6 separate regions of the Homo sapiens genome follow, and regions 1, 2, 3, 5 and 6 are each linked to region 4. The links are contacts of gene promoters, found by promoter capture Hi-C in human tissues and cell types (Jung and others, 2019). All regions are on one chromosome and are shown on one strand. Each heading gives the region's core, a stretch centred on a gene start or on the middle of the fragment in contact. The rest is flanking DNA. Distances are from core to core; before and after follow the strand shown.

Evidence for each region. The method cuts DNA at HindIII sites, captures the fragments that hold promoters and counts their contacts. A contact is called where the count stands out against the background at its distance.
Region 1: a contact is called between a fragment that was not itself captured here and the fragment with the promoter of SLC35F6 in region 4, in 1 of the 25 tissues and cell types used here (pancreas).
Region 2: a contact is called between a fragment that was not itself captured here and the fragment with the promoter of SLC35F6 in region 4, in 2 of the 25 tissues and cell types used here (liver and mesendoderm cells).
Region 3: a contact is called between a fragment that was not itself captured here and the fragment with the promoter of SLC35F6 in region 4, in 1 of the 25 tissues and cell types used here (pancreas).
Region 5: a contact is called between the fragment with the promoter of TMEM214 here and the fragment with the promoter of SLC35F6 in region 4, in 1 of the 25 tissues and cell types used here (mesenchymal stem cells).
Region 6: a fragment that was not itself captured here is called in contact with the fragment with the promoter of SLC35F6 in region 4 in 1 of the 25 tissues and cell types used here (mesenchymal stem cells).

Annotation. Positions count from the first base shown.
Region 1 is chr2:27,080,501-27,085,344 of GRCh38, reverse strand. It overlaps EMILIN1 (elastin microfibril interfacer 1), which reads right to left. Exons shown (of 8, transcript NM_007046.4): 3 at 4,393-4,613; 4 at 1,334-3,262; 5 at 814-930; 6 at 337-354; 7 at 48-185. Among named protein-coding and RNA genes, the nearest start is that of KHK, 3.8 kb to the left of the region's middle. RefSeq lists an enhancer at 3,767-4,026. The HindIII fragment of the contact is 5,307 bases long and covers 711-4,844 here.
Region 2 is chr2:26,500,187-26,504,660 of GRCh38, reverse strand. OTOF (otoferlin) reads left to right here. Exons shown (of 47, transcript NM_194248.3): 6 at 816-889; 7 at 2,235-2,361; 8 at 2,853-2,907. Among named protein-coding and RNA genes, the nearest start is that of OTOF, 56 kb to the left of the region's middle. RefSeq lists a silencer at 822-951. The HindIII fragment of the contact is 3,846 bases long and covers 1,165-4,474 here.
Region 3 is chr2:26,418,145-26,422,956 of GRCh38, reverse strand. It overlaps DRC1 (dynein regulatory complex subunit 1), which reads right to left. Exons shown (of 17, transcript NM_145038.5): 3 at 1,557-1,669. Among named protein-coding and RNA genes, the nearest start is that of DRC1, 19 kb to the right of the region's middle. The HindIII fragment of the contact is 5,834 bases long and covers 1-4,501 here.
Region 4 is chr2:26,761,668-26,766,221 of GRCh38, reverse strand. It overlaps SLC35F6 (solute carrier family 35 member F6), which reads right to left and starts at 1,938. Exons shown (of 6, transcript NM_017877.4): 1 at 1,796-1,938. The coding sequence starts at 1,872. RefSeq lists a silencer at 1,762-2,071 and an enhancer at 2,082-2,281. The HindIII fragment of the contact is 8,469 bases long and covers 754-4,554 here.
Region 5 is chr2:27,031,091-27,035,352 of GRCh38, reverse strand. It overlaps TMEM214 (transmembrane protein 214), which reads right to left and starts at 2,388. Exons shown (of 17, transcript NM_017727.5): 1 at 2,187-2,388; 2 at 1,087-1,286; 3 at 68-218. The coding sequence starts at 2,337. RefSeq lists an enhancer at 2,476-2,765. The HindIII fragment of the contact is 11,592 bases long and covers 1-4,262 here.
Region 6 is chr2:26,365,152-26,369,868 of GRCh38, reverse strand. SELENOI (selenoprotein I) reads right to left here. Exons shown (of 10, transcript NM_033505.4): 4 at 2,649-2,723. Among named protein-coding and RNA genes, the nearest start is that of ADGRF3, 21 kb to the right of the region's middle. The HindIII fragment of the contact is 6,132 bases long and covers 1-4,717 here.

The DNA of each region.
Region 1 (4,844 bases), core at 2,115-4,614, 320 kb before region 4:
CCTCACCCATTTCTCCAACCGTTCAACCCAGCCCCTCCCAGGACTACCTGTCTCTGGATCATAATAGCCTCCATCATTGAGCAGGACTCTGTCGAAGGGGACCGTGCCTGGTTCAGACCGGGGCAAACTCAGAGCAGCTGAAAATGCCACTTGGGGCACAGGGGCTGCTGGTGCCCCCTCCACTCCTGAGTGGGAAGGGTGGATGTTAAAGGGGATGCTCAGGGCAGAGTGCCAGCCCCCTTCCCCTGCTGGATCCCCAGCCCAGGGCTGCCCGAGGACCTCTATCCTCCAACCCCTAGTCACTTCTCCCTCCAGAATCAAATGAAAGGCACTCACCCTGTTCACCTTGAGGACCTGTGAGAAGAGGAAAGGGAGCAGTGAGAAATAAAGCAGCTCTCACTAAGTCACTCAGCAAACATCTGCTGAGGCTCTCCTGTTGTGCTCGGTGCTACGTGGACTTCAAAGCAGGAATTGGGGTATCAAGAAAAACAGGAATAGGTAGGGTCCATTCTGTTCAACTGCTGGGCCATCCCAGCCTTTCACACCCCAGACAGCTATAATAGACTCAGCTTTAGTCTCCAGTACTGCAGTGGGGCCAACATTATCCATTAGCCTCCTAATACCCATTAACCAAACACAGTGACTATCACAGTTCCTCCTCACTTTCCTCTGATTTTCCCTTATCGGTCAGGTAGTACCCAATTCCCCTTGTCAAGTTCAGAGTGGAATGTCAAGCCTGGGGCTGCCAGCGGGGGTCAGGGTTGGAGGGGGCAGTGGCAACCCTGACTGCAGCAAGGGTCTCAGTGCACATACCTGGTGGCCCGATGGGGCCCTCTTGCCCGTCCTTGCCTGGTGATCCTGGAGGTCCAGCAGGGCCTGGGGGTCCCTGCAGCCCAGGAGGCCCTGGGGGCCCAGCCTCTCCTGCAGGCCCTACAGTGACAAAATTGAGTTGAAGGAGGGCCATAAAAGGAGTTTCCAATGGGTAAGGAAGGTGGGTGGTGGCTTCATGAACAGGGAGAAGATGGATGGAACAGGTGGAGCTTTGCAGGCTGAGGGGGCCATGGGGTCCCTTGCTGCATATGCTGGATCCCTGGCTGGCAGAGCAACATCCTCTCTCCACCCACAGGCCTAGTGAGCAGCCAGAGGGAGGGCGGGAGCTAGGACCTTGCATCATCTCTTGCAGGCAAACTATAACACCTGGAATACTGGCTGGGGCTGCAATTCATGTTGGGAAAAGCAAGGAGAAAGCAGATGAGTTGGAAGCTGGGCTGGGGGAGGGAGAAGAAAAATAAGGGGCTTGAAAGGGGTCCCCTCATGCCTTTTGTCCCCTCACCAGTGAGGTCCTTCAGGCTGAGCTGGTGCAGACGGTCCTCCAGGAGCTGCAGGGAGCTGTTAAGGGCACCCAGCCGCCTGCCCAGGCCCGCCTGTCCCCCGACCAGCTTCTCCAGCAGGGCTGCCTGCATCTGGCTGGTGGTGTTGGTTTCCCGGAGCCCAGCCCAGAGCCCAGCCACGTGTCTGGAAAGGCCCTCGCGCAGGCCCTGCAGTCCCCCAGCCACAGTGTCCAACCGTTCACAGACACCCTCAAGACGGCCCAATCGCCCCTCTAAGCTGGGGCACTGGCCGGCCTGTGCTTGTCCCTCCTCTAGGCCTCGGAAGCGCTCTTCACTCTCTGTAGCATGCTCTGTGGCCTCCTGCTGCAGCCTGTTAATCTCAGAAATGATACGGTCCTTGGTTGCCCCCAGGTCAGCCAGATCAGCGCCCTGGCCCTCCACAGTGGTCTGGAGCTCATTCAGTGAGTCATTGAGGGAGCTGAAGCTGAGAATAACCTCAGAGAGCTCTCCTTGCAGGGCCTGCAGGGCTGAGCCTGAGCTGCCCCCAAACACGCTGAAGCCGTCCAGGGGCCCACGGCTTGGGCCCCCAACACCTGGACCAGCCCCAGGACCCCGAGGAGGCAACAGGGGGCAGGAGCAGCGCTCCACACCATCCCGAAGGCGGCCTAGTTCCTCTTGGACTCCGCCACAGGCCCCACAGCCCTCATCCCCATGGGCCTGCAGCAGCCCCTCCAGTTGGCCTAGCCGGGCCGCAGTGAGATTCAGCCGTAGTGTGAACTCTGCAGCTGTCTCATCCTGGGCATCCACACGATCCTGGAGCCGGCCCACAACCTCTTGTAATCCCTCCAGCGTGGCCTGCCGGGCCTCCCCCGCTGCTTCCACCGTGTGCAGGCCGGAGCCCACCAGCCGCAGCTGCCCCTCACTGTCCAGCACCCTGCGCTCCAAGGCACTGAGGATCTCGCTGACTTGAGAGTCCTGCTCCCCAGGGGCCCCAGAGCAGAGCTGCCCGCATGCCTGCATGGCCCCTGCCACCTGCTCCTCCAACAGATCCAACCGCCCCCCCAGCTCCCCGCTCACATTGGCCAGCAGCCCCCCCAACTGCTCTAGTCGGCCCCGGGCAGCAGGCAGCCAGTGGCTCAGCCCCCCAGGAGCCCCAGGCCAGCTCTCCTCCTGCTCCTCCGAAGGGCCCAGGGTGGAGTTGAAGCGGTCCTCCAGGCGAGACAGGCGGGAGGCCAAGCTGGTGTAGCCTGGGGGGTGGCCTCCCTGCCCCGCGGCTCCTCCCAGCTCTGTGCCTCGCCGCCCACTCAGCACTGTCACTGAGCCGGCCACGACATCCAGCCTGCGCTCCAGCTCTGCCAGTCGCCGGCCCAGCTCTGGAGAGCAGCATTCCTGAGGGGGCCTGCGGCCCACCGCCAGCCCTGCGAGGTGCCGTTGCCGCTCCTCCACCGAGGCCAGCAGCTTCTCCATCGCTCGCAGCCGCTCCCTGTCCTCCTGCTGCTGCCGGCGGAAGCCATCTAGCCCGGCCAGGCACACGGAGCAGGACTCCTGCAACCGCTGCTCCAGCTGCCGCAGCAGCTCCTCACTGGGGCCCGGAGGGGCTGAGGCTGGGGCTGGGGCCCTGCTGCCCCCACTGCTGCTGCTGCCGCCATGATGGTTGTTGAGGTGACCCAGCTCCTGGTCGTGGGTGGAGACGCGGGTGTCCAGGAGCTGCAGCTGGTGCTGGATCTCATTGAGGGTTTCATGCACCCCAGGGCGGGCAGCCGCGTCAGCTGGCTGCTGCCTCCCGTTGAAGGCCGTCTCCACAGCCCTCTGCACATCCTCTGCCAGGCGCCCGCTCAGTCCTTGCAGGACGCCCCGCAGGCCTTGCAGCTCCTTGGTCAGGCTCTGCACCTGTTCCTCCAGCTGCTGCACCTTCTCTGACTCCCCAGGACCTGAGGAGAGGGGAAGGCAGAAGGCAGAGGGGCTGGACCCCAGAGCTCAAGGCCCCTGCTCACCCCAGCTCCAGCAAGGGTCAGATGCCCAGGCTGGCTCTGCCTCTCCTTTGGGTGATTTTGGCAAGAGAAAAAAAAAGAAACTCCATTCACTGAATGCCTCTAGGCCAAATATGAACCATGGCTCTGTTCTTCAATAACTCCCCTGGGGAGATACCATGAACTCTTCCCATCATATAGGCTGGGAAACTGGACCAGAGATATTAGGTGCCTGGCCATGGATCACAGGTTTAATAAATGGCAGTGCTAAGTTTCAAACCCAGACCATCTATCCAGCCCCCAGGTCCATGTCCTTTCCACCTGCCCAGAGTGCCTCTTAACTTCTTGGAAACTCTTTCCTCTTCTGCGAAAGGATAATGACACTCTTCTGTCATGGGGCTGTCAAGAGGGGCGAAATGGGAGTGTAGGGAGGCACTCTGGATGCCACAACAGTAGCTACCACTGGGTGACACTTCCCTGCAACACCACGGGGACAAAGAAGAGGCTCTGTGGACGGTGAGAGTTGGCCAGGAGTTCCTGTTTGCATAATTATAGTAAGGCTATCTCGGGGCAGGGAAACAGCACATCCGGTGTGCAGCACGCAGGAGGGAAGGCAAGCCACAGGAACTGCTGCATGCTGGGACCTGCGGTCTCCAGAGGCCACGGAGGGGTCTGGGATCTGTAGTCAGGTGCAATGCATGCTAGGATTTGTAGTCTCAACTGTCTGTCCCCACGGACCAAGCTTCTCAAAGGAATGCCCCTTTCTCCTGCAGCTGTTTGAAGGATCTTGGCCACATGGGGCGTGTGCGAGCACCTTCTCTTTTTTGGCCTTCTTTTTCTCAGTCTCTCCATCTTTTGCGTGCTCTCTCCCTCTCTCTCACACAGACACACAAATACACACACACACACACACACACACACACACACACACACACGGGCAGGGAATCTCTGCGATCTCACTAACCCTTCTGCCCCTCTCTTCTCTCTGGCATAGAGCACGGGGGACTCCCCCAGCAGCCTGGCCCCACATTTCCCATTGCATTGGATCACCATTTGGAACTTGCCACCCTCGCAGCAGCTCCCACACTCACCTTCTCCCCCCAGTCCACTGAGGGGGCTGCCTGCACTGGAGCCAGAGAGGTTGGGGCGGGCAGGCCGGGCCAGGGGCCGTGGTGTGGAAGACGCAGGCCCCAGCGCTGGAGCGGGACTCTCAGCACAGTCATCGCCCCCATAACCCTGACAGCACCTCCACTCCATGTCGGTCACTGTCTTGTAGGCCACACGGTAGCGAGGGCGGAGGAAGCGGCGGTACCTGGCAGAGGCAGAAGGAGGCCTCTTTATTCCTCCCTGTACGGTCAGTGACCCTGGTCCCTGTCCTCAGGGGTGGGCAGCTGCTGGTGGGCATGGCCTGTCCCTCAGGCTGGGTCCCTCTTACTGTCCAACATGTGGCCTTGCTTAGCTGACAGCTGTCAGCTTTTTGGCCAAGGGTTAAATCCCTGCTCTTCCTTCCCTTGCCCTGTGCTGGAACCTTGAACTCCTCTGC
Region 2 (4,474 bases), core at 1,838-4,337, 260 kb after region 4:
CCTCAGCCCCGCTGACTGCAAGGCCCTTCACCTGGGGGCACAAGGTCGCAGCAAGCCAGAGGAAGAGGTAGGAACTATGGAGCCTGCCATAAGTTCCTGGGGTTGGGGGAAAGGGGAATTTGGCAGTGAGAGGGGACAGGTAGAAGGGGCAAAATCCAGGACCGAAGATAGATGGGAAAGGGCCTATCTCCCCCTTTTTCATGGGGACCAAGGAGCATCCCAGAACACGGAGAGGTTGGAGAAAGACAAGTCAGGCTTTGAGCACCAGGGCCATCTGAGAACTGAACAGCTCGTTTCAACCACATCTCCCATCTCCTCATCGGCCTCTGCCCCTGAGTCCTCTCTGGTCCCTGCCCCGCCGTTCTGATGCTCTGTCTCCAGTCCTCGGGCTTTCTCTCCAACCAGCTGAGCCGGGGAGGATGAGCGTGGGGACACTGGCAGGGCTCGGAGCTCTGAGGAGACTAGACTGAGGGGCTGGGATCAGACTGAAAAGTCCAAGACCCAGAGGAGCTCCAGTTAAAACGGCTCTTTCCGGCTCAAGACCACGTTCCCTGCTTGCTGGGGACCCCATCCCTCTCCTCCGTGTGTGAAAGGATGGCAAAGGCGGAAGTGGAGGGGTCTCTCACTGCCCTGATTCCCCCTCCTGGCTCCCAATTTGGGAAGACAGATCCCGATCTGTCTCGGGACCAGTAGGTGAGGGGCCGGGTCCATCTCCCTTCTCTGATGTGTTCTCTCATGTTTGGCTCTTCTGTGTTTGTGTGTTTTCCTCCATGCGTCCCTCTCCCTGCACCTCATTCTGGTGGCCCCCCTCACAGAGCCGGGAGGAGCGTGTTCTCCGCCATGAAGCTCGGCAAAAACCGGTCTCACAAGGAGGAGCCCCAAAGACCAGGTAGGACAGGTGCCGCGTGAGCCCCGCAGCCCCGCGCCTCGCGGCGCCCTCCCGCCGCTTTCCAGCCCCTGCCCGGCTGCCAAAAGGCCCTCCTGGGATAGGTCGTCCCAGGGCCAGGCCCCACCCAGTGATGCGTGGCCCTCTAGGAAGGAGACGCCCTAGGGCCGAGGGAGGGAAACGGGCAGCGCCCTCTGTCGGGGGTGCCTGGTTACAAGGCTCCTCCCGCCCTCGTTGCTCCCGGTTCTTCCTTCTTCACGCAGAAGCCCAGTGTTTTAATTAGAGCAGAGAATATCCATCAAGAAACGCTGTTTGGCCAACTCCCTATTTCTGGGGGGAAACCGTTGTCCCACTAGTACGGGGTCGGCGGCAGGCCTCGCCCAAGCGCTCTCACCAGGCTGCAGCCTGGCCTTTGGGGAGGTCCTGGGGCCGCTGGAGGGCGCGGCAGGGCCGGGCCTGGGAGGCTGGAGCAGCAGGTGGCACTGGGCCCTCCCGGAGGAGCGACTGGAGAGGGGAAGACAGCTGCTGCAGAGGAGGCGGGAGGCCTGGAGGAAGACAAGGGGAGAAATGGAGAGGACAGGGGAGCTGGGAGGGGGCCATCTTCTCCATCACGGGCCCACCATCGGGGCTCCCGGCTGCCCTCCCCCAGCATCCCCTCTGTGGCCTACTGGCCCTCAGGCTCTCTCCCCCACCCTCTTGCCCCCATGCCAATTCCAGCCGTGCCCTTCACCTTCTTAAATGGAGAGAGTACAGCTGCTGGCTGAGGACCAAACCCAGCATCCTTGGGTGGCTGTTCGGAATCCACATGTCTGCATCTCATTAGATGAATACACACCAATGCATTAGGTTCTGAATTCCATCAGCTGTTTGATATGGATAAGTTACTTCCTAAGCCTTCGTTTCTGTACCTGTGACATGAGAATAACGCCCATCTTGGCAGGGCACAGCTCTAAGGACTAGAGATAGTCATGTAAAGTCCTGGTGTTGTGCCTGGAACAGAGAGTATCCACCCAACAAATGGTAGCTATTTATTGAGAGGTGCAAAAGTATGGATTCTTTATTCCCTACCTTCTTCCATAAGAGATATTCAGTGCCTAAGTAAGTGGTATACAATAAAAGAGCATTCAATTAAAATAAAAAGGCAAGACCAGACATAATGGCCATTCAAATCCAAGATCGGGATTAGGTAGAAAAACACTGCAGTTATTCAGGCCATAATATTCTAAGCGGTAGCAACTAAGTAAACCTCGAATTTAACTCTCAGCTTTCTGGATGCCAGAGTAAAAGGAGAAATGGTCACTATCTCACCATCAGTCAGCCCACCTAACCAGTCTTTCATCTTCCCCAGATGAACCGGCGGTGCTGGAGATGGAAGACCTTGACCATCTGGCCATTCGGCTAGGAGATGGACTGGATCCCGACTCGGTGTCTCTAGCCTCAGTCACAGCTCTCACCACTAATGTCTCCAACAAGCGGTGAGTGGACGGGAGCCCTGCAACCCCAGCTGCCCCCACCCTGTCAGGCAGGACCTGGCTTGCCATGATTGGAATTTGGGTAGGGAAGAATCAGGGCTCATGGACGGCTTCTTCCTAACCTAACCTTACCCTTTTCTGCTTTTCCTTGGGTGTTTTTCTCACCTCTCTCCCTGCAAAAGCAGAGCACAGCAGCTGCAGGCCTGTTCTCAGGTCCTTGAATACCTCCCAGCCCAAGGAAGCCACAGACCTGCCCACCCCATATTTGAACCTATTGACCCCATGTCTGTCTCTCTGTTACTTCTGCCTTTGATTAGTTCTCTGTGTTGAGGCCTCTGAAGACAACTAATCCTCACTATTCTTGGCAGTGCTTGAGTGTTTAAAGACCATGATTCTGTCCCTCTGCCCACTCCCAGGTCTAACCACTGCCAGTGTCCTCCTCCCCAACAAGCAGTCCCCATACCCCAGGCCTGATGGTACATTCTCTTCCTCAGATCTAAGCCAGACATTAAGATGGAGCCAAGTGCTGGGCGGCCCATGGATTACCAGGTAGGTGGGCACCTGGAGGCCTCATGTCTTTCAGACTCTGCTCTAGTGGGGGATTCTAGCCGGATGTGCATTATCCACTATACTGAGGCATGGATCCAGGGGTCATAGAGAACAACAAGCTGAATATAAGTTCCCAAAGTAAGCTTGTTCCTGGGAGGCATTCCTAGAAGTATCATCAGTAGAGAGATACAAACCCAAAGAAAAGCTTGAGAACTCTGCCTATGCTAATCAAAGCCCTTCCAGTATTTCATGTTCAGTATTGGACTTCATAAAGTGAGAAGCACCTAGAAAAACCATAAAGAGACCAAGAACTACAAAAAAGTATTCAAACAGTTAAAATAAGGGCCTTTGAAGAAAGTTTTCCTGGCATGATTTTTAAATTGTTGTTTTGTATTATTTGATTGCTGGAAGTAATGACGATTCTGTTTATCTCTGGATGGTGAGACTGTGAGTGATTTTTTTCTTCTTTTTGCTTCTCTGTATTTTCTGAGATTAACACAACTTTTTTATTTGTGTGCTTCTAAGACCAGAGACAAAAGACTGAGACAAAGAGAGGTTGACAGCTGTAAGAATGTGAATGTGGCCAACAGTGCAGGCAGGACAGGTGATGAGCATGTCTGGTGGCTGCTGGGACACCATCTCTCAGGAAGGGCCCAGGGACCCTCCATTGCTCCAGACCCTCCCTTGGAGGCTAACAGGACTCAGCTATAAATCAGAAGACTGCTGGGCTTTCCTAGGATTGAGTTAGAATGCTGGCTGCTCAGAGGGGACAGGGCTTGCAAGAGATCTCACCTGGCTGCCACTGCACTTCTGTCCTGGGGATGTTCGGTCTGGGTATCAGCACCAGGCCCCAGAATCAGAGTGAGCCCCATCTACCAGGGTAGAGCTTTATCTCTGATGCCTAGTTCCAGACCCCAAGCACACTAACCCTTCTTTACGGACAACCCCACCTCCCCTCACTCAGGTGATGATGGAAAGGATAAGATGGCACTTTTCTATGTAAAAGGTACATCTGGCCATGTTTTCTCCAGAATATACTTCATCTCCCTTCATCTTTGTTTTAGTTAGTTTCCATCTACTCAGGCAACTGTCTTCCCAGGTGCCTGAAAAACAGCCCCAGGCAATGTCAAACGGACCTGCCCCTGTGGTTTTAAATAACTTCAAGCCATTGGATTCCTTAGGGGTTTGAGAATGCCGGCCCCTCACCTCTGCCAAAACCCAAACACAAAGTGTCCTGAGACTTCCGAGGGCTTTTCCAAGGGATTGGGCTCAGGGCTTTGTTTCTCTGTGTGCTGAGAACTGGAGAATTCCAAAGAACAACGACCCCAACTCAGGTATCATGTCACTGGCCTAAGAGGTAAGGACACATCAAAAATAGAGTCATTATTGTTCATGAAACTTATTTTTGAAGGTTTATTCTATGCCAGGCACTGTGCTAGGAGCTATATATGTATTTCCATTGAAGTTAATGTAATTCTTCAACCACCCAAATATAGGTGTTACTGCATTTATAGGTAAGAAAGTGAGGCCCCAGGAAGGTCAGGAACTTGTCCCAGGTCGTTGCCAC
Region 3 (4,812 bases), core at 335-2,834, 340 kb after region 4:
ATGGTCAAGTGGTTGCCTTTTTTTTTTTTTTTTTTAAAGACTAGGTTTCACTCCCATTGCCTAGGCTGGAGTCCAGTGGCACACTCTTGGCTCACTACAACGTCCACCTCCTGGGCTCAAGTGATCCTCCTGCCTCGGCCTCCTGAGTACTGGGACTACAGGTGTGCACGCGCCACCACACCCAGCTAATTTTTTGTGTTCTTAGTAGAGACGGAGTTTCACCATGTTGGCCAAGCTGGTCTTGAACTCCTGACCTCAAGCAATCCGCCTTCCTCGGCCTCCCAAAGTGCTGGGATTACATGCGTGGGCCACCCCGTGCCTGGCCAAGTGGTTGTTCTTCTAATTGTTTAAGAAATTAATTGAAGAACAATCCAAAGCTTAAATGAGGACCTGCTATCAGTCTACTTCTGTGTGCAAACCAAAGAAGTTTAATTCTTCTAAGCCGCTTATGCCTCCCTGCTGGACAGCCTGAGACCTGGGACATGGGCGTGCAGGGCAGCCTGCCTCCTGAGGACTGGAGCTGAGGACTTGACGCAGGTTCTTGTGATCCCTGTGAACCTCCATCCTTCTATGCATGGAGCCCTCAATATTCTTTAATAATGCTGCCACCTTTACACATAACACTGAGGTATTCGTGGGTCTGGTCATTCTCACCAATTGAAACCCAGGACTGCCCAGTTGACCTTCTTAGCCTCTTCTCTTTTCTTCCATTACCCGCATACATCCTTCGCTATCATGCCATTCCCAAGCACATCATGTGATCTCACACCTCTGCTCAAGTGTTCCCTCTGCCTAAAATGCCTACTCTTCAATTCCTCAAATTCCTATTCATCCCTCACAGCCCAGCTCAACGTCACCTTGCCTGGGAAGTTTTCTGTAATCTCTGCAGATAGAATTAAAGGCCTCCTTGTGTGTGTTACTACAACCCTTTACACATTATCTATTTTACCACGAATTATGGGTGTTTCCATGTGTCTCTTGACTAGACTGTGAATACCACAAACAGAGGCCGTGTTTCACTCCTTTTGTATACACACAGCTTGGCACGTATCAGCAATGTAGTGCTTGAGGAGGGGAGGAAAGAAAAGAGATGAGATAGCCGGGCGCGGTGGCTCACGCCTGTAATTCCAACACTTTGGGAGGCCAAGGCGGGTGGATCACGTGAGGTCAGTAGTTCGAGACCAGCCTGGCCAACATGGTGAAACCCCGTCTCTACTAAAAATACAAAATTAGCCTGGCTTGGTGGCGCATGCCTGTAATCCCAGCTACTCAGGAGGCTGAGGCAGGAGAATCACTTGAACCTGGGAGGTGGAGGTTGCGGTGAGCCGAGATCACGTCATTGCACTCCAGCCTGGGCAACAAGAGCGAAACTCTGTCTCAAAAAAAAAAAAAAAAAAAAGAGAGAGAAAGAAGAGGAGGGAGGGAGGGAGAAGTTATAAGGGCAGGAAGGGAATTGTCTAAGGTGGACAAAGTCACCCTCCAACAATTCGGGAGAACTGCCGGACCCATGGAGATTACCTTCATGTCCACCAGCTGCAGAGTAGCACAGTCCTTACCTTTGACGCTTTATCTCCTCTTCTTCGACTCTCCTGTGAATCTCTCTGATATCTATAGCCACCTGGATATTTGTCACCAACTCGGTGCCACAGAGCAGAAGTTTAGCCAATTTCTAAAAAGAGAGATATAAGAATTTACAAAGCTAGAACACTTTGTAAATAATATATAAAGTCTGAAACATTTTTGCACAACTGTCCGCAGCTTCTATCCATTCAAGCAGGAAGCAGCAACTACCTTAAGATTTTTAAGAGTAGCCTCTGTGTAGCAACCCTTTTCTATCAGGACATTTGTGATGTGATTTTACAGCTCACAATTTAAAAGCACTCTGCAGTTCTTGGCCAGGCACAGTGGCTCATGCCTGTAGTCCCAGCACTTTGGGAGGCCAAGGTGGGTGGAGCATTTGAGGTCAGGAGTTCGAGACCAGCTTGGCCAACATGGTGAAACCCCATCTCTACTAAAAATTCAAAAATTAGCCAGGCATGGTGGCGGGTGCCTGTAATCCCAGCTACTCAGCAGGCTGAGGCAGGAGAATCATTTGAACCTGGGAGGCAGAAGTTACAGTGAGCCAAGGTCACGCCGCTACACTCCAGCCTGAGCAACAAAGTGAGACCCTATCTCAGAAAAAAAAAAAAAGAAGAAGAAAAAGAAAGAAAAAAGAAAAAGAGAAAGAAAAGTCCAGTATCCAGTCATAATATGATGAGGCCTGGAGAAAAGCCACTGCGTTTGGCTAGAAGGGCATCATTAGTATCCTACTGTGGTAAGTTTTTGTCCAATCCTGGGCAAAATAAAAAATTTTAAAAAAAGCACTCTGCAGTTCTCAATGTACTTTATTTATTCACTGTAGAGAAGGCACCAGCCAACTTTTATACCAGCAGATATTGTACATTCATCTCAGCCTTGTCCCCAGCAGATCTCCAAGTGACTGACACTGCCGGGAGCCTTTCGAAGAACCTCAGTTGGGGAGGTGAGGCAGGTAATGACAGTGAGGCAGATAATGACAGTGAGGCAGATAATGACAGTGAGGCAGGTAATGACAGCTGTGCTCCCATGTCCATTTCTCCCTCTCCTTTTAGTAACAGAACACTCAAATTTTTGCTGGGATGTGGCTTCCCAAAATAGGTACCTTTCCCAGCCTCCCTTGCACCTAGAATACTATCTGATCAGTGACACAGGAGAAGTAATGTGTGCCACTTCTGAATTGTGACTTTAAGGGGAAAAGGTGTACCCTCTGCTGCCCCACTTCTGCCCCTTCTCCCAGGCTGGCATGTGGGGCTCAAGTAAAAGGTGATGAGCAGATAAAGGCAACTCAAGCAATGGCAGAGGGAGCTGAGGTCCCATCATCAAGCAGACCCCATCCATGTGAGCCCTGGACTACTTATACTCGGAACTGTTGAGACAGAGAAACAAGCTTCTGTCCTGCTGCAGCTAATGATATGTGGAGTCTTTCATTACATGGATTCTAAGGCAGGAAAAGATTGTAGCTGGCTGCACTGCTGTCTCCTTAATGGGCTCAGGGATTTTGTAATTGGTGCCATCCTTCTAAATCCCTCTTCGTAAATTCCATCTCCAGTATCTTCACTCCTAGCCTTGTTGTGATGTTATTCAAGATGATAAATCCTCTCAACAAAAAGTTCGAGTATCCTTAGGTTATGCCTAAGTTTTTTCAAGTCTTTTTGGAACTTATGAACTCTCCAACTCTCAAATAATTTTTAAACTAGGAACCTATAAAACTTCTACACCAAGGAGTCACAGAAATGACCAGAGACTTCACTTGATCTCACTATTATATGAAAAATTTGAAATGTAGTTTCATTGAATACAGAACAGAGCTTTAACCCAGATATCCAGGGCACTCTAGATTTTTTGTTAATGCCTGCAGTTTTATCACTTGTACAAAATGGTTTTACGTGCATAAGGAAGTAATGGCTTTCCTGCAGTTTGGGGTTATTTTCTAGTTTCTACTCAATGTGAACATCAGAGAGTTCTGTATAAGTACCATGTGCTAACCAATTACTGGAGTTCCAGAAATTTCTGAATCAAGTATTTAAGACTCAAAGTAAAATTAAAAATCCAAATGTCAGCCACCAACAGACCAAAATGCCCCTCACCTTTATGAGATCCAGGGAAAGCATTTAAATGGAGGTCCACATACCATATGTCTAAATATTTTTAAATTATAGTATCATGTAAAAATTGTTAAATAAAACATTCAGCCGGGCATGGTGGCTCACACCTGTAATCCCAGCAATTTGGGAGGCCAACACGGGCGGTTCACCTGAGGCCAGGAGTTCAAGACCAGCCTGAACAACATGGTGAAACCCCGTCTCTACTAAAAATATAAAACTTAGCCAGGCATGGTGGTGCACACCTATAGTCCCAGCTACTTGGGAGGCTGAGGCAGGGGAATCGCGTGAACCCAGGAGGTGGAGGTTGCAGTGAGCTGAGATCATGCAACTGTACTCCAGCCTAGGTGACAGAGTGAGACTCTGTCTCAAAATATATATATAATATAATATATATAATATATAATGTTGTATATATAATATATAATATGCTTTATATATACTATATATTATATATACTATACAATATATTATAATGTATATATGTATAAATATATAAATTATACATAATATATAAAAATATAATTTATATTATATATAAATTAAATATAATTTATATATTATATAAATTAAATATAATTTATATATAATATAAATTATATTTAATTTATATAATATATAATTTATATATTATATAAATTATATATAATTTATATTATATATAATTTATATATTATATAAATTATATATAATTTATATATAATATATATTATATATAAATTATATATAATTTATAATATATTGTATATTATTAATATATAATATATATTTAAACTATATTTTATATATATCCTCCTATCACAATACCTTTATGACAATTTAAAAGTCCTAGTTTGAATTCAGACACACCTCAGAGTTCTACTGATAACTGGGTGGCTAAGGAAGAGCCTGCCTCTGGCCACAGCTCCCAGCCCACCCCCAGCTCTGTCCTGCAGGCATGCGGATTTCCCCAACTGCACATCCAAGCTCCATCTATACCCTGTGGCCATCTGTTAGCCCCAGGGGTTGCATAACATTGGCCTCATCTGCCCTGAGCAGGACAGACTCCGGGAAGAGGCACATATAGGTTGAAGGTGGGCTCAAAGTCATTTGGACGGGGAATTTTGGCTCCCATCGGACTCAGTAATCTAGA
Region 4 (4,554 bases), core at 689-3,188:
ACCTTAGAACACTGTTTAGGGTCCAATTTGGGGGCCCATCTTGGGGTGGGAGGATCCTGAGAGGCCCCACACCAGCTGTCAGGCAGGGGACAGGACCAAAAGTTGGGTCTGTCACCTGGGAGCCTCTTTCCTGACTCTCAGGCAGCCTTTAAAGGCGACGCCTTCTGGGATTGAGGATCTCTAAGCTTCCTACCTGACTGGTTTGGAGTTTTCTAAGGAAGGAGGTGAATCAGCACAGTTTACCCCAGCAGTAACTGGCAATCTGGATTCTCCTTGTGGGCAGCAGCCCTGGTGGACTTACAACCGCTCTCTAAGCACTTGACAGAGGCCCTGGCTGGCATGACAGAACAGAAGACTTGCTTTGCTGTGTTCAGATCCTGAGATGGGAGCCCTCAGGCTGGGGCCTCTGAACAGCTAAGGATTCAGCATGAGGAGTGATCCTCAGGAGGATGCAGGGCCTGGGAAGCTAGTAGTTCTCCACAAGGCACAGTTGGCCAGAGGTGAACCAGAGGAACAGGTGGGGCCCACCCAGGACTCCACTGACTGTGCCCACCGTTTGGGGAAGGGAGAACACTGTGACTGTCGTGTGCGTACACGTCTGTCTCCTCCACCTCAGATTCCAAGCATCTCAAAGGCAGAGATCGCCTCTTGGTCACTTCTGTCCCCTTCCCTTACACACCGTAGGTACCTTATACATGGGATCGTGCCATTGCACTCCAGCCTGGGCAACAAGAAAAGGAGGGGCAGGAAGGCCCTGCCCTGAGATGGAGACAGAGAGAGACAAAGAAATGCCATCCTGCCCACAACAGAGGGGAGGCTAGGCCCTGTCCCTCAGTCTCATGACTGCCTGGGTCCTTAGTCCCTAACCTCCTGGGAACTGTCCCCCCTCTCACCCCCATACATCAGAGCTGAACTGGCCACTTGCCCTCTCTGTCTGAGTTAATGGCACTTTTCTTCTCCCAGGCAGAAACCCTGGAGTGATCCTTGTTTCTTGCTCATGTGGGTCAGGCCTGTGGCCATTCACACCTGGTCTCTGCCACCAGTTGTCCCTTCCTTTCTCTTCTCACTGCCACCTCCTAGTTCCCCTCATCTGCTATGCAGCAGCCTTGGAGTGGTTTTTCCTGCACCAAACCACTCCTCATGTCATTGAGTCAATCATATCACTTTCAACATGTCATTCCCCAGCTCAAAAGCACTTTTCTGATTATGAGAGAAAATCTAACCTGGGCATTTGATGCTGGTTACAATCGACTTTGATCTGGCCTTTCCGTAGACTTTCCTTGACTTACAGTCTCAGACACATTCCGAAATCCCACCTAAGCTTCAAAGCACAGCTCTAACCCCTCATCCTTGAGGGGCCGTGGGGCACCTCCCTGTCTGCCGCTTGAGGCCTCCACGCTCACTGGGTCACTCGGCCTGCACAGCCACTACTGCGGCTCATGTGCACAAGTCCAGGGGTCTCTCCCAGCTCGTGGAGGGAGGTGCTCAGGCTTGGACGCCAGCACTGGAAGGGCCGTGGAAAGGAATCGGCCAACCCTCCTGTTAAAAGACGTGGAAACAGGAGCGGAGGCTGTACAGCAAATCAAAGCCGGGGCTCGGATCCCCCCGTCCGGGGCGCAGCCCCGCTCCGCATTTCCCCGGGCCTCGCATCCCTTGGGTGGTCATAACGCGCGCGAACTGACCGGAGCAAGTGGGAAAGCAGGGGAAGCCAGGAGGGCAGGGCCAAGAAGGGGGAAGGCGTAGAACGAGCGCCGGGGTCGCCAGGGCCCGCACGCCCGGCAGGGCCCAGACTCACTTTGCCGAGAGCGTGTTGATGGAGCCGGTAACAAGCATGAGCCCGGCCAGGAACAGCTGGTACTTGGTCCAGGCCATGTCGGCGGACGCTGGGGTTCGCTCCAGTTAGCGGCGCCGGGCCCCGTCACCCGGGGTCTCCTGCGCGAGCGCTTCCGGGCCGGGCGTCACGTGACCCCTCCTGCTCGCCCCGCCCCCGGGGAGCGCGCCTGAGCCACGGTGCCCGCGCTCTGCCGAGTCGTCCTGGAGCGCTTTGGTGGCCACGCCGTGGCCCTGGCAAATCACGGCCCAGGCCTTCCAGTTTTTTTTTTCTTTTCTTCCTCACTCTCCCCCGCCTTTTTGGGTTTCTTTTTTCTATTTTTTTGAGAAGGAGTCTCACTCTGTCGCCCAGGCTGGAGTGCAATGGCATGATCTCGGCTCACTGCAATATCCGCCTCCTGGGTTCAAGCGATTCTCCTGCTTCAGCCTCCCGAGTAGCTCGGATTACAGGCGCCCTTCACCACGCCCGGCTAATTTTTTGTATTTTTAGTAGAGACAGGGCTTCACCATGTTGGCCAGGCTGGTCTCGAACTCCCGACCTCAGGTGATCCGCCCTCCTCCGCATCCCAAAGTATTGGGATTACAGGCGTGAACCACCGCGCCTGGCCTTGGTTTCTTATTTTTATCTTTGGGTCTTCCTATTTGTAAAAGGGGCGGATGGGACAGTGCAGTGAGGGTGCATCGTGGCTATTACAGCATTTTGTGAATCGTTTTGAGAGGTTGAGCTGGGCGGTGTCAGAAAGGAGCCCTGAAGTGGGCCTGCCGGGAGTTCCTTGGGGACCCTGTAGAGAGGAGATTCCCACGCTGGACGTTTCCACTTCGGGGCTCCTATCTGATACCGCCCACCTTGGGCACAGTTCATATCTTTCAGCAAAGTGGCGAAGGCATCTAGCTCCAGTTGCCGAGGACACCATTTTATAGCTGAGGACAGTAAATTCAGCGAAGCAGAGTGATTTGCTTAAGAACCTGCTGGTGAGCAGTGGGGTAGGGATTTGCGCTTGGGTTCTCCAGTCTCCAAAAATCCGTGCCTTCCGCATGGCCTCTGCACCAAGCCCTGCTTCACTGCTCCTTTGTGGACTTTCTGGTCGCAGCTGAGGCATCCAGGCAGAAAGACCATCCCTAGGTTTGTTTGAAGAGGGTGTTGACGAAGAGTCACACTCTAAAATATTTGAAGGGATTTATTCTGAGCCAAATATTTGTGACCATGGCCCGTGACACAGCCCTCAGGAGGTCCTGAGAACATGTGCCCAAAGTGGTCGGGGCGCAGCATTTTAGAAAGACACGAGACATCAATCAAATACATTTAAGAAATACATTGGTTTGGTCCAGAAAGGTAGGACAACTCAAAGCCGGGAGGAGGGGAGAGGGTGGGGCAGGAAACGGGAAAAATATCTATCTATGTTAATAGAGATTTTTGTTTTTTTTTGAGACGGAGTCTTGCTCTGTCGCCCAGGCTGGAGTGCAGTGGTGCGATCTCGGCTCACTGCAACCTCCACCTCCCGGATTCAATCAGTTCTCTGCCTCAGCCTCCCAAGTAGCTGGGACTACAGGTGCCTGCCACCACGCCTGGCTAAATTTTGTATTTCTAGTAGAGATGGGGGGGGTCTCACCATGTTGGCCAGGCTGGTCTTGAACTCCTGATCCACCTGCCTCGGCCTCCCAAAGTGCTGGGATTACAGGCGTGATCCGCCACGCCCGGCCGGTAATAGAGATTCTTTACAGATGCAAATTTTCCCCCACAAAAGACAGATTTGCAGGGCCATTTCAAGATATGGCAAAGAAAAATGTTTTGGGGTAAAATCTTTTGACTTTCTTCTTAGTCACATAATATTATGCCAGAGTCAGATTGGAAAGTAAGTCATGATATATAGGGTTAAATAAAACCCATCTGATGAGAATTTATGGTTTGTAGGGCATGACTCTCCAGACCTCTTAGGTAGGAATTTGGGCAAGGTAAAAAAAATCAGAGCTTAGTCCTCAAGGGGTTCTGGTGTTTAAAATCCTACTCTTGGCTGGGTGTGGTGGTTCACACCTATAATCCTAGCACTTTGGGAGGCTGAAGCGGGCTGATTGCTTGAGCTCAGGATTTCCAGACAAGCCTGGGCAACATGGCAAAACTCAGTCTCTACTAAAAATGCAAAAATTAGCTGAGTGTCATGACAAGTACCCATAATCCCAGCTACTCAGGAGGCTAAGTAGGAGGATCGCTTGAGTCCCTGGAGGTGGAGGTTGCAATGAACTGAGATCATGCCACTATACTCCGGCCTGGGTGGCAAAGTGACACCCTGTCTTAAAAAAAGAAAAAAAAAAGGCCAGGCGCGGTGGCTCGCACCTGTAATCCCAGCACTTTGGGAGGCTGAGGCAGGTGGATCACCTGAGGTCGGAATTCAAGATCAGCCTGACCAACATGGTGAAACCCCATCTCTACTAAAATACAAAAAATTAGCCAGGTGTGGGGGTGCATGCTTGTAATCTCAGCTACTCCGGAGGCTGAGGCAGGAGAATCGCTTGAACCTGGGAGATGGAAGTTGCAGTGAGCCAAGATCGAGCCATTGCACTCCAGCCTGGGCAACAAGCGCGAAAACTCCATCTCAAAAAAAAAAAAAAAAAGAAAGAAAAAGAAAAGAAAAAACTGCTCCTAATATGCCTTTCCCAGTGCTCTAGTCTGCACCCATGCCCTGTCACGCCAGCGACAAGATCCTTTTGTTACCAGAAAGGGGTTCT
Region 5 (4,262 bases), core at 1,139-3,638, 270 kb before region 4:
TCTGTTATACCACCCTTTTTGAATTTATTTGAACTTGTCTGAGCTTGAGGAAGCTGGAAGGACTTACCATGAGTATGCTGGCTCAGCGTGGGTTCACTTAGAGGAGCTTGTAGCTTGTAGTTGAGATAGCTGGCCAGGTCCTTCAACCATATGGATGGGTTTCCAGAGAACACACTCTGGCTCTTGTCCAGTTCCTTCTGCAGGTCTGCCACATCCAGCTGCCAGGGACAATCCCCCAACCCCCCACCATGGCGAGTTGTGAGTGAGGGAGTAAAGAAATGGGGTAGGGGTGGGAAAATGGTTGAACTAGGTGGCAGTAGGAAGAAGGGATTCCATTTTTAAGCATAAGAACATGGAATGCTGCAATTCTGCTGTACCTACATCTTTAAGAATGGAACAGGACAGCTGAAAATGCTGATCTCAGGCCCTATCCTCTCAGGCCCTCCACATGTTCAAGAGGAAAACAGAGGGCCAGGCGCGGTGGCTCACGCCTGTAATCCCAGCACTTTGGGAGGCCAAGGTGGGCGGATCACCTGAGGTCAGGAGTTCAAGACCAGCCTGGCCAACGTAGTGAAACCCCATCTCTACTAAAAATACAAAAATTAGCCAGGCGTGGTGGCAGACGCCTGTAATCCCAGCTGCTTGGGAGGCTGAGGCAGGAGACAGAGGTTGCAGTGAGCTGAGATCACACCACTGCACACCAGCCTGGGCGACAGAGGGAGACTCTAACTCAAAAAAAAAAAAAAAAAAAGAGGAAAACAGAGGACAAGACAGAAAATGAAAGATCAGTATTTCCATAGGACAGAGAATCATAACCAGTTTCTCCATCTCCTCCCTGGTGTTCCTGGGTCTTCAAGGCTTTCCTCTTACCAATCCATGTTTCCCTATAAATTTTCCATTTCCTTTCTATTCTAAGTGCAGGCATTCTGTTCCCCTGGGGTTTCCATCTTTTCCTGAACTCCTCTCAACCCTTAAAGTGTTTCAAATCCCATAGGATCTCAGCTGCCCATCCACCTCCCCCTCCTCTCATCTTCTCTAAATCTCAAGCCCCCATTCTTTCTGCGTCTCATGTCTAGGCACACTCACAGCTTTCAGTGCTTCCTCCAGGCTGCGGAAGCGGCCCTGCTTCTGGTTTTGGTTGGGAGGAGTTGCCACCTTCTTTGGCTGCTTCTTGTTCCCTGGTTTCTTAGGTTCCACAGCAGGGGGTGGGACCTGCTCCTTATTCTGCCGCTTCATGATATTCTCAAAGCCCCGCTCATAAAGGGTGCTTGTGGTCTGGATTGCAGCTGGGGTGAAGATAGGTAGAGAAAGGCAGGCCACCCTTGAGTCCCCAAGGCCTCACCTATCAGTGGTCCCTTTCCCCACACTGCCACCTAATTCATCTCCAGGGAAGAGCCTGTCTCAAAGCCCCTTCCTCTTGGACTGCTTAAGGAGCAGGGCAGGCTGTTCTCCTGGTAGCTTCTTTCATTACAGCTCTTGAGTCTATGGGCTCTTTCATAAAGATGGGGCAGTTCTTCATTAGACAAATCAGAGTATGTAGGAACAAGCAGAGAGGTTGGATATAGAGGTTTGCCTTATTCAGTGAGTGGCTACTAGTCTGGGAAGACAAGCTTTTTCCATCTTGGTCCTACCCTAACGCCTCTTGGTTCCGACATGACAACTCTATAATCAACAAGTGGCAATCTTTCTCCACTCCTCAGTGGAAGAACCAGGTGTCACTTATAATTCCTGGTGAGTGTTGAGTGTGTGGCGGTCATTTCTCCCACTGCTGGGCCTCCTGTCCCTTCCTCCATGACCTGCTGGTTACTTAAAGAGGGGGCACCGTGTATAATGATCCACAGTACCTCTTCAAAGCTCAGACACCTGCCCAGAGAGACCAGCTAGGGCCCTGGGCAGCTGGGAGAGTGTGTGCAGTGAACTGAGAGTCTGAGGACCGGAATCCTAGCCCCTCTGACACATGACCCTGGCCAAGGTATCCAACTTCACTGGGCCTCAGTTTACTCATCTGGGAGGTGAGGACCGCAACCTTCCCTGGAGCTGTCTGCCTCCCGTGAGGCTCCAAAGAGACAACGCAAGCGTGGCGCTCGGGGATGTGCCTGCGAGCTCGCGCCCAGGTTCTGGGAGCCGCTCGCTGCGACCCTGCCGGACAGGCCTGGGGTAGGCGGCGGGGCAGGGCGGGTACTCACGGGTCAGGTCGTATTTCCACACTCCGTTTGCTTCCCCGAGCGCCCTGCGGTTCCTGCCGCCTCCTCGGCCGCCGGCGCCGGCGCCGACCCCAGGCCGCCGACCCTTCTTCACTACCTCCCACCGCCCCACGCCCGCCGTCTTGGTCGCCATGGCTCGCAGCCCTCCCTCCTCGGCCACTTCCCCGGCTTTCCGGTCCGGCGCGAGCGCGCCGCACTCTGCCACGTCTCCTCGCAGGACCGCGCGCCCGGCGCCCGGCGCCCGCCGCAAGGCAGCCTGGGACTTGTAGTCCCTCTCCTGGGCCGGGCTCTCCTGAGCGAAGAGCATCGGGAAGAGGCTTCCGCGGCAGCCTGCGGCCCCCGCCCAGGCGAAGAGGCCGGGAGGAGAGGAGATTCCCTTCTGAGAACGTTCATTGAGCGTCGATGTGAAGGCCACGGCATTGAGAGACTTGGTAGAACTGTTTCTGTTTTTCTTTCCTTTATTGATCAATTGATTGATTGATTGCCAGGGCCGCGCTCTGTCGCCCAGACTGGAGTGCAGTAGCGCGATCTCAGCTCACTGTAACTTCCGCCACCCAGGTTCAAGCGACTCTCGTGCCTCAGCGTCCCGAGTAGCAGGGACTACAGGCTCCCGCTGCCAAGCCCAGCTAATTTTTGTATTTTTAGTAGAGACGGGGTTTCGCCATGTTGGCTAGGCTGGTCTCGAACTCCTGACCTAAAGTGACCCACCCCACCCCCACCCCTCAGCCTCCCAAAGTGCTGGGATTACAGGCGTGAGCCACGGCGCCCGGCCACTGTTTTTCTTTCCTTTCTCGTAGAGCTGGAAGGATGGAAGGGAAGTAGTGCTCCTCATATCTAGGGAGAGATTGAAGATTAAATGCTTCCTTCCTTCTAGGAAAGTGCTGGCTTTACTGTTGCTAGTGATTAAACCTCGGGTTTAATGGGCTATACAAATCTATTGCCAAAGAACAAGGAAGAGGATGGGGGCTTGAGGAAAGGGCAGAGTGTTGGGGAGCTGGGGTAGGAGGTGGAGAATGGAGAATAATTTTTTTTTTTTTTTTTGAGACAGGATCTTGCTTTGTCGCCCAGGCTGGAGTTCAGTGGCGCGATCACGACTCACTGCAGCCTCAACTTCTAGGGCTCAGGTGATCCCCCACCACGGATCACCTGACCCACCACCACCCCCGGCTAATCTTTGGTATTTTTTGTAGAGACTGGGTTTTGCTGTGTTGCCCAGGCTGATCTCAAACTCCTGGGCTCAGTGATCCACCCTCTTCAGCCTCCCAAAGTGCTGGGATTACAGGAGTGAGCCACCGCTCCTGGCCTCTGAGTTCTTCTCATGGGAGGCTGAGAAAAGTCTGGGGGTCTGGGACAGCCAGGGCCGGGTTTCCCCTTCCAGGCAATGAGAAAGAACAGGCTCTGCCTCCCACCATAAGAGTCAATCCCAAGTTCCAGATGTGTCAGGGAAGCGATGGAGAGCCCCAGACTTGAGGCATCTGCAGACAGGTTCCTGCTCAGACATCCACGTGGAGGGTGTTAGTATCCTGGGAGCCTTCAGAACCTTGAAGCATGCCAGCAGAGGAGAATGAGGGAAGATAAAATCAAAGTGACTTATCACAATTAAGGAAATGTGCTATTTCATGTACAACTGTGTGTGAGGATGAGATTCCTACCTGCCATACTGAGGTATTATGATAAGAACTAAGAGAGTCCAAATTCCTACAGGATGAACAGCTGAGGGAGCGATGCATTCCTTAGGAAGGAGTTTAGCTTCCCGAAGGAGACGGCAGCTGAGATAGGTTCTGAGAAATAGCATTTTCATTGGTTCCCCGGGCGCCGTGGCTCACGCCTGTAATCCCAGCACTTCGGGAGGCCGAGGTGGGTATCACCTGAGGTCAGGAGTTCGAAACCAGTCAGGCCAACATGGTGAAACCCCATCTCTACTAAATACAAAAAAGTAGCCAGGTATGATGGCGCAGGCCTATAATCTCAGCTACTTGGGAGGCTGAGGCAGGAGAATCGCTTGAACCTTGGAGGCGGAGGTTGCAGTGAGCCGAGATTGTGCCACTGCACTCCAAC
Region 6 (4,717 bases), core at 1,210-3,709, 400 kb after region 4:
AGGAGGGAATGCTATCAGCAAAACACACCAGGGTGGAAAAGCACAATGCATGTTCAGAAAATGCCAAGAACCTTAGTTTGACTAGAGACTAGCATGTTAAGAGTGAAGTATATAAAAAGGTCAAAAAGGAGGTTTGAGCCAGTTTAAAAGTTGTAGGGAATATGGGGAGTTACTAAAGGTATCTGAATAGAGAAATCACAAGAATGAAAGCAATGTTTCAGGAAGAGGCACCTGACGGTATGAATGACAGGCTGGAGAGAGGGACACTAATTAGTAGGCCTGAGATGAAATGCAGTAGGAATGAGAAACTGGTGGTAGGTGAGATGGAGGAAATAAAAATGATAAAATGCCGCAAAAGATGAGGGATAAGGCCTAAGGACAAGAAGAGAATCTCCAGTTTCTATTCTGGGTAACGAAGATAGTGGTAGTGTTAATAGAAAAAAAGAAGTCAGAATAAGCAGCAAGAGTGACAGACAAGATGCAGAGTACAATTTTAGATACTGAAATTGAAATGTTAGTGAGATATCCACATGGTAATGTCAAGGAACTCAATCCAAGGGTACTTATTAGGAACTCAGAACACAGATCAGGGCTAGATATAAACATGAGAATCTTAACTAAGACTGTAGAGTGAGAATCACCATTACCAAGGGAATGAGGAGAAAGCCAGAGTTTAGGATAAAGCACAGTAGAATACCTTCATTTTACAGGCAGAAACAGAAGAGCCTGTTAGAGACAGCCTGTCTCACTGAACTGTACAATTTTTCCCCCAAAAGAAACAGTTTTGTTAACTAGTGCATTAGAATTAGGCTAACTGAAAAAATTCAGATTAAGGAATTAACTCCTATAATTACGGTTAATCTTGCTCACCAAAGTACATTCCCCAGTGCCTAGATCAGTCTGTGGCATAATATATTGTTGAAGACTATATGAAAAGATGAATCCCAAACTCCCTATCCAAATACTACAGATTTCTGTTATACAGGGTTGGGAAAGTTTTTGCCCTGAAGTAGCTAAAATATTCCCAGAAAGTCTTTTCTCATTATTTACTGGCTTAACAATTTCCCATTTTCAATGTAACTCCTATACAGTTATTACAATACTAAATTCATAACTATGTATTAATTAGGTTTTATACATTTTCTCACTACACCCATTCCATCTCCACAAGTCTGAGGTCCAGATATGCTTTAGAATTTTTTTTTCTTAAAAAGGTAATTCAGGGCATATATCATATATTATCAGAGACTCCCCAGTAGGACATAGAGCAGCATCCTGTGATCAAACATCTTAGTATTTCTGCAGCAAAATGTCATGAATAGTCACACTAGGTAGAATAAAGATTATAAACTGCTTCATGTTCGTTCAAGACTGGTTTGCAACAAATAGTTCATGTCAGACCAGGGTTTTTGCCAGAAAACTGTGGGCCTAGAACAAGTAGATGGTACATCAAAAGGATCTTACGGCGTGTTGTCAAAAGTCAGAGCTCACAGCCACTCTCAACTTTTCCCTATTCCTCTCAGCAGTCCTTGGCAACCAAATCCTTCAGCAGCACTTAAAGACCTGCTCATCTTTAATAACAAATGTGCAAAAACCTCTGCCTAAATATGTAGCTTTTAACTAAGCTTTCCCTTAATTCTTCTAGACGTCACTGATTTCTTCCTTCTCCAAACTCTTGCAGCTCTGGTCAGCATGACATCTACCATATCAGCATTTAATCATGTAGCAGGTTATGCTGGTTTTATGAGAACAAGTCACTTTTATCTGAAGAGATCTAAGCAACTTGAAGTCAGGGTCTGCTATTTTACATGTATTTAAAAACTATGTACCGAGTGTCTACGATACTGGGGATACAGTAGTGAACAACGCAGTACTCACTTTCACAAAACTTAACGTTTTAGTTAGAAAAGAGAGATAACAAACAAGCAGGCAAGTAAATAGATAACATGTTACATGGTTTTAAGTGCTATGGAGAAAAATAAAGCAGGGAAGGAGAGAAGAATGCAGGACAAGCCATGTGGATAATCCTAATGAAAAGCATTCTTGGCAGGACAGACAGCATGGTCTAGCACAGTAGGCCTCCCTGCCCACTCCCTGACCGCTCCCTGTACCAAAAAAGAATTGATCACTTCCTTATTTGTTTTCCCACTGTGTTCTATCATACTATTTTTTAATTATTACATATGACAGTATTGCTTCCCAAACTTAAGAAAAATGATGTCTTATTCCAGAGGTTGGTAAATATTTTTTAAAGGCCGCATGATAAATATTTTAGGCTTTGCAGGCCATACAGTCTTTGTTGCAACTATTCAACTGTGTCTTTATAGCAGGAAAACAGCCATAGACAATATATAAAGGAATAAGCATAGATGTGTGCCAGTAAAACTCTACTAACAAAAATAGGCTACACACCAAATTTGGCCCACAAGTAGTAGTTTACCAACTCTTATCTTATTCTGTGAATCCCTGGCAATGAATGACAAAATTTTTTGTAAAGAAACTCAAAAACATATTTATCAATTTGAACAGGATACTAATAAACTCTAGTTAAAATGAATTAAGCACAGGAGAAAATGTTATTTTAATACGTGGCTATCCTTGCTGATTCACCAGTCACTGACTATAGTAAGTATTTACCAATTCCTTACCTAGAGTGTAGGCTACGAAGTTGAGGATGCCCACTACAATCCAAACCCAGTCAGGCACGTGCTTGTGACCTGGTGCTGAAAAGGAAAGCAACTAAGATTTTAATACAGTTTAAGTACAGTAGTTCTTACCATAGCATATACTGACAGTGAGAAGTGTCGCTATTTGTTCATTAGAAGTTAAAGTACTTTACAATATATTTTGAATCCAGAATTACGTAAATAATACCAGGAAACTGATAAAACCAAAAAAGCAACATCCCAGCCTGTCACAAACAGTAAGCAGTTATTTTGAGCTTTTATCGTAACTCAAGACTGAGTGTTCACCTTTACTTGAAAATAAATAATTTTCATGCGCCTACAATGAAAAATAATATATTTTTGGAATTTAGAAATTAATTGCATTTAATCTAATTCTTGTTTATGACTGTATTACAAACTTGTATTGAGCCTTCACCTTATCCTTTCCTATACTATTAATTAGCTAAACAAAAGACCTTTTGATTTGGGTATAGATAGATCACCTCAACTGAATGATTTGGGCATCAGAATCATTCTGAAATATCTAGAGCTCACTTTTTCCCCTAAGACAAAACAACTGAGAATCAGAAAGTCTAGGGTCTAGTCCTGGCTTTGTAATCAACCAGCAGTGTAACCTTGAATGTATCATTTAATCTCTCCCATCTTGTATTTTCCAAATATTTTGGGAACAGATGGTTTATCTGGTCCTTGAACTTATATGATTTGGGGAGATATATATAACATTTACATATGTTTGATGCTGTTAATAGCTAAGTAAATAATCTTATTTAGAGTTGTCAAAGAAAATAGTATTTCTAGTTACAAAGATACATTCTTTAGGGTGTCCTGAGGATTAAAATACAAAAATAAATAAATAAATAAATAAATTTTTAAAAACCCACAATACCCAAACAATGCTTAACAAAATTTAATCTTACTCTTTATTCATGTGTACTTTATGATCTTCTCATGCTTCAGAGTTGGCATTTCCAACTTCAATTACCATTTTATTACATGTACAGAAGCTATGGCTAAAAGTTTCAGTAAAGTTCAGCATATGTATACTTTCAATATTTGGAATTTCTATAGTATCAAAAGTCTTGGCCAGGTGCAGTGGCTCACACCTGTAATCCCAGCACTTTGGGAGGCCAAGGCGGGTGGATCATTTGAGGTCAGGAGTTTGAGACCAGCCTGGCCAACATGGTGAAACCCTGCTCTACTACAAATACAAAAATTAGCTGGGCATGGAAGTACACGCCTGTAGTCCCAGCTACTCAGGACGCTGAGGCAGGAGAATCGCTTGAACCTGGGAGGCAGAGGTTTCAGTGAGCCAAGATGGCATCATTGTACTCCAGCCTGGGCGACAGAGTGACACTCCGTCTCAAAAAAAAAAAAAAAAAAAAAAAAGTCTTAAGTGTTTGAAACTCCAAATTTTTCTACTAAAACAATGTTGTCAGTGGTACTCAGTTTCTCCAGGTCAGTCCAGAAAAGTCTGCTGAACTCATACACAGATGAATTATAACACTAACACTCCTGACTACATCATTTCTAAGTATTACTGTTGGAAAATTCTCTTAGAATGCAAAAAATGCCCATCTATCTCCAACTTTCTATTCCTCTCAATGCAATCAACTGACTGAACAATAAAAACAAAACTTGTCTCCAACTATTCCCTCGTCATCCCAATTCTTTGGCCTGGGGCAGAAGCTGGGTGTGAAACAGAGTGAAGATAAAATGAGTGAGAGAGAAGATGTTGGAGCAGAGGGCAGGAGCAGGCTGACCACTGGCTCCAAAAGTGCCTCCTTCCTCTCTTCCTCAATAAGGGTCCAGACTTAGCAATAAATACTTAAGGTCTAAGTATCATTTTCAGAGGAAACTAGGAGTCATTCAAGTCAAGTAGGGATGCTGGGAAGAAGGAAAGACAATCACATGTCCTTCAGAAGAAAGGGGATTTTTCTTTCATGACTAGAAAAGGAGAAGGGATATTCCTAGAGCTGACAGGTAAACTGAGCCCTGTTTGTATTCATTTTTAGGCAAAGTTTTGAGTCTTA